2 separate regions of the Homo sapiens genome follow, and region 2 is linked to region 1. The links are contacts of gene promoters, found by promoter capture Hi-C in human tissues and cell types (Jung and others, 2019). All regions are on one chromosome and are shown on one strand. The core of a region is centred on a gene start or on the middle of the fragment in contact, and the rest is flanking DNA. Distances in the headings are between cores, read along the strand shown. Region 1 holds the start of NRSN2 (neurensin 2). Region 2 has its middle 43 kb from the start of SCRT2.

The links. Contacts are between HindIII fragments. The study calls those that stand out against the background at their distance.
Region 2: a fragment that was not itself captured here is called in contact with the fragment with the promoter of NRSN2 in region 1 in 1 of the 25 tissues and cell types used here (pancreas).

Annotation. Positions count from the first base shown.
Region 1 is chr20:343,329-348,360 of GRCh38, reverse strand. It overlaps NRSN2 (neurensin 2), which reads right to left and starts at 1,250. Exons shown (of 5, transcript NM_001323682.2): 1 at 1,219-1,250; 2 at 849-927. It overlaps LOC101929937 (serine/arginine repetitive matrix protein 2-like), which reads left to right. Exons shown (of 4, transcript XM_047440635.1): 2 at 1-261; 3 at 347-942; 4 at 1,370-2,095. The coding sequence ends at 1,693. RefSeq lists silencers at 143-232, 413-942, 963-1,382 and enhancers at 189-951, 952-1,714, 1,715-2,478. The HindIII fragment of the contact is 22,559 bases long and covers 1-5,032 here.
Region 2 is chr20:716,267-721,133 of GRCh38, reverse strand. No RefSeq gene overlaps it. Among named protein-coding and RNA genes, the nearest start is that of SCRT2, 43 kb to the right of the region's middle. RefSeq lists an enhancer at 735-1,239. The HindIII fragment of the contact is 3,953 bases long and covers 818-4,770 here.

The sequences.
Region 1 (5,032 bases), core at 1-2,500:
GAGGAAAAACAACAACAACAAAAGCCACGACAGAGAACGGGAAAAGGCAGAGACTGAAAGCGAAGGACCGTCGGAGGAGGAGGGCGAGAGGTCTGGAGAGGAGGGCTCGCCGGAGGAGGCGGGCGGGGCGGGCTGTGCGGAGGGTGCGGCCAGCGCGGTACCCGCCCCGGCGAGGCGCTGGGGAGGCCCGGGTGGGGAGAAGAAATGGGGCCTGGGGGACGGTAGGAGCCTCCGTGCGGAGACCACTGTTCAAGGCCACAGGTGAGGAGGTGTGGAGGGGGCTTCGGGGCTGTTGACCTGGGTCAGCTCCTCCCCTCCAATTCACCGCTTCCGCGACTCCAAATAGATGGAATCACTCAGTCCTGCTGCTACTGGAGAGGGAAGGTGACCTTGACGCTGCCTCCCGCTCGGCCTGGCCCCTCCGCCTGGCGTTTCAGGGCTGCACGGAGTAGGTCTGGCGGGCGGGGGGCGGGGCGCAGGCACCCGGGACGAGGGTTGCCATGGGAACCGCTAGGGAGGCGTCCCCAGCCCGGGAGCCGGGAGGAGCTCGGTGGGAGGGGAGCGGGAGGCGGAGGGGGCTGCGCTGTCCGACGTGGGGAGACTGCGGCGGAGGGAGGAGGCGAGGGGCGGCAGGCACGGGCGGAAGTGACGGAAGCCAGGGCCCGAAGATGGACGGAATCTGTCGCCTCTGCACAGCCTCATTCAGTTGTGTCCTTCCCAGACCCTCAGACTCGCCCACTACAGCGTCCAGCGCTGCCCGGGCGGGGGAGAAGGGGCGCCCTCCCGGGGGGGATGGGTAGGGGGTGTCGGCCGGGGAAATCAGGCCATTTCCCGCCTCCCTTCCCCACCGGCACCCGCGCCACTCTTCCTGACAGGACCACCGATGCCCTGCTCCACACCAACTGCGTCCTTTTCCCTAGAGAGAAACTGAGGCAGAGAGGGGTAGGAATGGGTTTTTGAAGTGTTGGCGGGGGTGGGGGTGTCCTTTGAAGCCTCTACCCAGCCTATCAACCCTGAGGCGTCGAGGGGCGATGGGGCTGTTTCTGTCTCCCGCCCCTGCTGCTTCCCTGGGACCCCCACCTCCCAAAGCCGAGGCTCAGGCGCAAAGGTCCCGGCCCTGGCGGGACACGGCCCGGGCTGAGGATGCGGGCAGAGCGCGGGGGTTCTCCAGGGGCTGGGGCTGGGGCCTGGCCGCGCGTGGGGCAGGGCTAAGCTCACCTCTCTGCCTGCTGTCTCCGCCGAGCAAAGGCGGGTCCGGTTCGCGCCTGCGCCGCAGTTCGGGGCGGGGGAGGGGGCGCCGGCCCGCCTCAGGGCCTGGCTCTGCAGACGGCGGCCGCCTGCAGCTCCCCCGGCTCCTGTCCCCTTCCAGAGTTCCCTGCTCGCTCGGACACCCCAGCGCCCTCACAGAGACCCCTCGGACTCCCTGGGCCCCAGCCCCTCACGCAGCCCCTCAGACTCCTCACCGAAGCTGCCGTCACTCCCGCAGTTCCCCACCCCTCCCGTGGAAGACCCATCCCTTAACCGAGCCTTCCTCTCCTCGCTGCACCGTCAGTCCCTTTTCCAGGTCTCCATCCCCCTCATGGAGCCCCACCCCAGCGTAGAAACCGCTTCTCCTCGCCGGGCCCCCGCCCTCTTCACAGGCTCCCATCTGTCTCCGGGCTCCTACCGGGAAGTCCCCTCCCACTTGCCTTGAGAGCCGCTAATCCCTCTGGAGTCCTCACATCTCACTCAGTCCCCATCCTCTTTTCATCCTCTTTTCCTCTTTGAGTCCCTACCCATCCCTGGTACGGGATCAGCCCTTGTACCTTGAGAAGGGAGTTTGGGTGGAGGACTCGGGGTTGGGAGAGAAGTGACCTCCACTTTGGAAGGAGCTAATGACAGCCTCCCTTGTTGTTTCCTCCCCTAGCCCCAGTTCTGCCCTGGGCAATGCGTGCCCACTGCCCATCTCCCTGGAGAGCCAGCCTGTGCCAGGCAGCTGCATCTGCCTCCCACCCTGTCATGAGCTGTCAGCCTTGATTTTGTCCCACATTTGCTGTGTGATCTTGGGAAAGTCATTGTGCCCCTCCAACCGTCATCAAGCACCCTTGCACAGACATGCCTTTGTGTCTTGAGCATCTATTCTGTTTCTCCTTGTGCTAGGGGCTGGGGACACACAGAAGAATGAGCTCGGCAAGATAGGGCCACATCTTCCTTTTTAGTTTTTCTTTTTCTTTTTTTTTAATTTTTATTTTTTTGAGACAGCGTCTCACTCTGTTGTCCAGGCTGGAGTGCGGTGGCATGATCACGGCTCACTGCAGCCTCGATCTCCCAAGGCTCAGGTGATCCTCCCACCTCAGTCGCCTGAGGAGCTGGGACTACAGGCACGCACTACCATGCCTAGCTAATTTTTTGTATTTTTAATAGAGACAGGGTTTTGCCATGATGCCCAGGCTGGTCTTGAACTCCTGAGCTCAAGTGATCCACCTGCCTCGGCCTCCCAAAGTGCTGGGATTGTAAGCGTGAGCCACCGCGTCTGGCCAAGGCCACATATTTCTTGTTCGTGTTGTATCTGTGAGCCTCCCATAGTGCTTGGCACTGAGTAGGCAGCCCAGTAAATATTTACTGAAGACAGTCTAATAATAGTAGCAAACTTATTATGCTCACTATGTGCAAAGTGTTTAAGCGTTTTGTATGTTCTATTTACTTACTCATTTAAGTGTGTGTGTGTGTGTGTATGTGTGTGTGTGTGATGGGAGGAACTCTTGCAGCTCAAAACTAAAGGCCCCAAATGGTGACAGGAGATGGCATTGGAGAGGCAGGCAGAAGTGAGACCTTGTGGGGCCTCATAAGCCAAGGTAAGGAGTTTGAGCTTCAGCCCAAGGGTAGTGGGGAGCCATGGAAGGGTTATGAAGAGGGGTGGGATGTGATCTGATTTTCATTCTGAAAAGACCTCTGGCTGCTGTCAAGAGAACAGCATGTTGAGCACAAGAGTGACAGCAAGAGATCAGCAAAGAGATCAGAGATGACAGTGTCTTGGCCTGGTGCAGAGAAATGAAGACATTCAAGAGATGTTAGCCTGTAAAATGAACTACAGGAATAGCTACAGATTGGAAACAACCTGTGGTGGTTTTAAAATATAGCTACAAATTCTTTAGCACTCCTCTGTAGAGAGGTGGGATCCTTGTACCCTCTCTGAATCTTGGGTGAGCTGATGACTGCTTCAACCAATGGAGTACGGTGGAAGTAACACTCTGACTTCTAAGGTCCAGACATAAAAGTACAGGCAACTTCTGCTAGAACTCTAGCTCTTGGAGCCTGAGGCACCATGCCTACCTAGGGCTCCATGTCTGCTTAGAGGCTGCCATGCTGTCAGGATGCCAAGACCATCAGGAGAGGACACATGAAGGCACCACAGTCCCAGCTAAGCTTAGCTTTGAGTCATCCCAGTTCAAGCATAAAAGAAGTGAGTGAAGAAGAACCAGATGAGGCCAGGCACGGTGGCTCACACCTGTAATCCCAGCACTTTGGGAGGCCAAGGCGGGTGGATACCCTGAGTTCAGGAGTTCGAGACCAGCCTGGCCACATGGCAAAACCCCGTCTCTACTAAAAATACAAAAATAGCCGGGCATGGTGGCGTGCACCTGTAATCCCAGCTACTAGGGAGGATGAGGCAGGAGAATTGCTTGAACCCGGGAGGCAGAGGTTGCAGTGAGCCGACATCATGCCATTGCACTGTAGAAGGCGAAGGGGAAGGGGAAGAACAAGATGATTCCAGTGGCCAGCCATTTGAATCAGCTTCAGCCTTCAAATCTTCAAATCTTCCTAGCTGAAGACTCAAACATTGCAGAGTAGAAACAAGCTGGCCTCACTGTGTCCTGCCTGAATTCCTGACACACAGAACCCACAAGCATATTCAAGTGGTTATTGTGTTATACCACTAGGTTTGGGGGGTTTTGTTCTGTGCTAACAGATAACTGGGACACCACTTAAATATCCATCAATGGAAGACGAGTTATGTACATTATATGTCTTTGTGGAATACTATGCATCCATTAGAAAGAAGAAATTAGTCTATAATTATTTATATTAATCACACTTCAAGTGAAGAAGGATGCAGTGTTCTGAAAAGTCTTGATAGTATGCCTCCATTTGAAATTCTCAAAAAGATGGCACATATAGAGAACTTCTGGGAAAATAGACAAGAAAGAGGTAACAGTAGATGCCTTGGGGGAGGGTAACTGATGGCAAGGGTGGGAATGAAATTCACTTTTTTTTTTTTTTTTTGAGATGGAGTCTCGCTCTGTCACCAGGCTGGAGGGCAGTGGTGCGATCTCAGCTCACTGCAACCTCCGCCTCCCGGGTTCAAGCGATTCTCCTGCCTCAGCCTCCCCAGTAGCTGGGACTACAAGCACATGCCACCATGCCCAGCTAATTTTTTTTTGTATTTTTAGTACAGATGAGGTTTCACCATGTTGGCCAGGATGGTCTCTATCTCCTGACCTCATGATCTGCCTGCCTCGGCCTCCCAAAGTGCTGGGATTACAGGCATGAGCCACTGTGCCCGGCCGAAATTCACTTTTTACTATACACCTCTATGTTAGTTATCTATTGATTTTGTAAAAATTTAGGTGAGAAATGATGAAGAATTGGAGTGGGCAGGAAAAATGGAAAGGAGGGTGCAGGTGTGAAAAATGTCCATAAAGTTAAGTTGGCAGAACTTGGTTACTAAGAAGTAAGGGAAGTGACAGGGATTGAGAGAGAGAGAGAGAGACAGAGAGAGGGAGAGAGACAGAGAGGATAGAGGCTGACTTTTATGTTTATAGGTCAGGTGGGTGATGCTCCCATTAACAGAGATGTAAAATAGATGAGGGAAAGCCAGGTTGTGGAGAAGTTGATGCCCTTTGCTTTTGGCAGAGTTGAATGGCACTGTACAGGACATTCTGGCCTAGAGTCAGGGGCAAGGTCTTGGCCTTAGATACAACATAGGGAATTGTTCTCACTGGAAATGGCAGTTTTAAACTTGAACTGGCTTTAAACAAAGGGAATATAAAGG
Region 2 (4,867 bases), core at 1,545-4,044, 370 kb before region 1:
CTGACAGGGATGAGTGCTAAGGCACAAGAGGGGATAAATCTTGACTCCACCACTGGGCAGATGACTTAATCCCTCATTTTCCCCATCTATTAGATGGGGACGATTATATTTGCTTGGCCAGGTTGCTCTGATCTGAAACTGCATTCATCCAGGTAAACACTCTGCACAGAGCCTGGCATGTGGTAGATGCCTGGGGCAGTTGTGGATGGGACACAGTCTCTCTTCAAGAAAAAGCTTGTCCTTCAGCAGCAAGGAGGGCAGCAAGGTGACAGCCTCCAGCTGCAGCTCCTCCAGGAGCCGCCTTGGCTTTGGAACTGAGGCCATGTTCTTCCCAGGTCGTCCCAGCCAGACTGAGCTAGCAGAGGCACCAGGGCCTGGCCATTTCTGCCCCATGTGGGGCTTCTCTGTGGATAATCTTTACTCCAGAGACCCCTAGAGGGTGACTCTGCAGGCCCGGGCTGTGGTCTGAGGCTCTCCTGGCCAATTCCATTCCCTCCTGCTTTGTGTTTCACAGGTAGCAGCCCTCACTAACCCCCTTGCCCTCCTAACTCTCTCCCAGCACCAGCACCGAGGGGCACCCAAACTGAAAGGCTGCTCAATGGAGCAGTGGTTCTCAAAGTGTGTCCCAGAACCCCCAGCATCAGCATCAACCAGGATCCTGTAAGACATACACATTCTCAGGCCACACCCTACATTTAGAGATGGAAATGCCTGGAAATCTGCATTTTAACTGATCCTTCCAATGCACTCAACTTGGAGAACTGCTGTCACAGAGGACAACAATCAGTAAGATATGCACAGCAGTGTGGCCAGGGTGTGTGTGTGTATGTGTATGCACGCACACGTGCCTGTGTGTGTTTTGTGGGAAGGGGAGAATGTTTATCACAGCCTCAGCAATTTACCACCCCCCAAGGCCCTCCCTCATTTATTTCAAGAACCCCGAGGGCTAGGCCAACAAGCCTCCCTCCCTGCCCATTCAGGAGGAAGGTCCAGTCCCAACCTCCAGCTGGAGACTCTGCAGGCCCAGTCTGTGAGGCTGCACATAAGCCCAGCCTTCTTTCCTCCTGCTCCTACGCTCTCTCCCCGCCTTCCTCCCCAGGGGCACCCAGCCCCAACCGCCCGCCTCCTCTTTGTCTGCCAATCTGTCTCCATCCCGTGATGAGCTCCCGGCCTCAGCCAGCCAGTCTGTGCTCCATCTTCAGGATGGAGAGTGAGGCCTCGATGCTCCCAACTACTTCCCACTCACCCTGGTGAAAGGTCACTGAGAATGGTTCATGCCACCAGCTTCACTTCCGCCTCCCAACCCGTCGCCCAGGTGGAGACCCTGCCCAGTCTAGGCCAATAATCGCATCTCCTGATGGATAGGAGACATCCTATCCATCCTATCTTCAAGAAAAAGCTTGTCCTTCAGCAGCAAGGAGGGCAGCAAGCTGACAGCCTCCAGCTGCAGCTCCCCCAGGAGCCGCCTTGGCTTTGGAACTGAGGCCATGTTCTTCCCAGGTCGTCCCAGCCAGACTGAGCTAGCAGAGGCACCAGGGCCTGGCCATTTCTATCCTATCCTATCCTTAGATAGGGAGACATCCTCCCTATCTAAGACACTCAAAACCTCATTATGTGACAAGAGAGGACAAAGGGGACAGAGGTGCAGAGGCTTGCCCAGGGTCACATACCAAGAGAGGGGAGCAGCCAGGAGTTGGCCCCTGCTCTCTCCTTCCACCTCAGATTCCAACTCCCAGGCCCTGGCAGGTGGCAGGTGATGGTTCTGAGGTGGTCACGTGTGGCGGGGACACTGTTGGCCCTGGAAAACCAAGACCTTTGTGAACTCACAAAAGCAGCACGTGCTTCTTTCTCTAGTGGGCGTGGTGGTCCCTGTCCTGCTCACCGATGCCACAGCCCTGCAAATAAGGCTCAGGCAGGGGGACACTGCCTGTGGGTCACATGGCTGCCTTCCCTTTTCTAAACTGTCAGTAGGTGATACATCAGCACCTTCCTTCATGATGCCCAGCCCATCCCTCATCCTGCCCCACCTCAAGGAACCCTGGAATGTCAGGGCCAGAATAACAGTGACAGTTATGACAGATTACTTGCTATGTGGCAGGCATGACTGGCAAGTGCTCCAGACATCATTGTATTTATTTATTTATTATTATATTTTTTATTTTATTTATTTGTTTTGAGACAGAGTCTCACTTTTTTGCCCAGGCTGGAGTGCAGTGGCTCAATCCTGGTTCCACTGCAACCTCCACCTCCCGGGTTCAAGCGATTCTCCTGCCTCAGCCTCCCAAGTAGCTGGGATTACAGGCGCCCGCCACCACACCCGGCTAATTTTTGTATTTTTAGTAGAGACAGGGTTTCACCATGTTGGCCAGGCTGGTCACGAACTCCTGACCTCAAGTGATCCACCCGCCTCAGCCTCCCAAAGTGCTGGGATTACAGGCATGAGCCACCGCGTCCGGCCCATCATCGTATTTCATTCTCACCAGGAGCGCATGACAGACATGCAGCTCTCAGCCCACTCTACTGACATGGACATAAAACTCAAAGAGACAAAGCACTTTAACTCCAACTGCGCTAGACCAACTCCTCCATTTGATAGATGGGGAAGCTGAGTCCCAGAGAGGTGACATGATTTCTCCAAAGACACACACTAGTCAGTGTCAGAGTCAGCCTTTTCCAGGCAGCTTACCCCCTGAGAGTGACCATAGTTCACTCACACGCCACTTTAGAGTTTGTCAAGCTCTCCTCTCCTCTCAGGAAGGGAAGGGTTTCTTTTGTTTAATGGTTCTCACTCTGGGATGCTTATATGATGTGCCAAGCAAGCATGGTTTGAAAGCTTTGTAAACATTAACTCATTTAATGCTCACAAATACCCTATGATGCAGATATGTTTATTGCCCCCATTTTGCAAATGAGGAAACAGGCACAGAGAGCTGGAGTAAACTGCCTAAAGTCACACAGCCAAGATTCAAATCCAGGCTGCCTGAGGTATTAACTACTATGATGTTCTGCCCTTTTTACTGCCAAAAAAGCCTGAGGCTCAAGGAGAGGACATGACTTGCATGAGGCCACACACTAGAGTGGTGGTGGCTGGACTGGAGCCCAGGCGTCCTGCCTCCACGCCCAGCGCTGGCTCTCCACCCCCCGCCCCACTCCACGGGGCTCTTTCTCACTCTATGTTGATTCACAAACATCAGTTGGGAGCCTTCTTTGGCCAGGAGGTCTGCCTCAGTTCCCCTACCTAACAGGTGAGGCAAACAAGAAACAGACACCTAAAAAACAAATGGATAAATGGGTTCATGGAGGTACCAGAGGCAGCTGTGGGAGTACCAGGCAGGACACAGAGCCACCCTGGGAAAAAGAGAAGGCTTCTGGAAGTCTGATCCTTGAGTTGAATCTCCAAGTTCAAGTGGCACCCTTTCCGGAAGGACAGAATGGAATAGGGCATCCCAGACTGAGGAAACAGCACGTGCAAGGGTTGGGGTATGGGAGAGTGTAAATTGTTGTGAAAAGTACTGTTCAACCCCACGCAAGGGAGGGCACAGAAAAGGCTGTCCTGGAGGATCATGGAAAGAGTCTCAGAGAGTCAGAACGCGGGAGTCCTGACCACAAATCTGCCCTGTCTCACAGTGACCTTGGTATTCCCATCTGTAAAATGGATTGATATCTAAGCACTCTGCCAGCTCCATCCTTCAGCTGGTGGAGTTAGGATGGCTTTGAGTAGGGGGCTGGTTTTGATGTGAGGGCAGAAGGTAAGGGAGGAAAGGCATTCTGGAAAGGAGGACCTGTAGGAGCAAAGGTCCAGAGAGAGAAAGTGCAGAGCAGGCATTAGAAATGGTAAGGACGGCCAAACACGGTGGCTCACGCCTGTAATCCCACTACTTTGGGAGGCCAAGGCAGGAAGATTTCTTGAGTCCAGGAGTTCAAGACCAGCCTAGACAGCATAGTGAGACCCTGTCTCTATGAAAAAAAAAAAAATAGCTGGGCATGATGGCAAGCACCTATAGACCCAGCTACTTAGGAGGCTGAGGCAGAAGGACTGCTTGAGCCCAAGAGGTCAAGGCTGCAGTGAGCTGTGATTATGCCACTGCACTCCAGTCTGATCAACAGAAAGAGACCTTGTCTCAAAAAAAGCAAGCAAGCAACGGTAAGGAGAGGATGTAGCTGCTGTTGATGGTCCATTGGATGGTGCAGACAGGGGACACATATGAAGAAGTTGTATCAGTCTGGACTCTTCAGTTAGAAGTGAAAGAAATAAAAAAAAAAGTAATTATTAATTTATATAACTGAGAAGCCCAGGGCACTGGCTTCTGTTATGGCTGAATCCAGGTGCTGACATGTTACTGTGAGGATCCTGTCTCTCTCTCTATCATGGCTTTGATTTCTTTCTTGTAGGCCTCACTCTCAGGCAGCCTGTAACCTCATGGAGGCAAAGGTGGCCACCACTACCTCTGGAATCCATCACACAAACTACACTTCTGGTGGAAAGGCTCCCAGTAGCCCCACAAAAACCTCAGAAGCAGCTCTTGCCAGACTTACTTCCTAGAATTGTCATGAAGATTAAAGAAGTTAATAGAGCTTAGCCCAAGCTCTGGTACACAGCAGGTCCTCAGTCTTTGCTGTAGCTCAGCCAGAGAACTTGACATTATCCTGGACTATTCTCTGTCTTCACATCTAACATTAGATCTGTTTGCAAATCTTATTGGATCTACATATAAAAGAGATCTAGAATGCATACAGTTCTTCCCACCTCCACTGATAACAGTCTAGTCCAAGCCACCTTCATCTCCCTACTTTGTTTTCTAAGTTTTATATGTATATAGTATATTTATATAGTAATATATTCATGTATTCAATTCAATTGTGAACA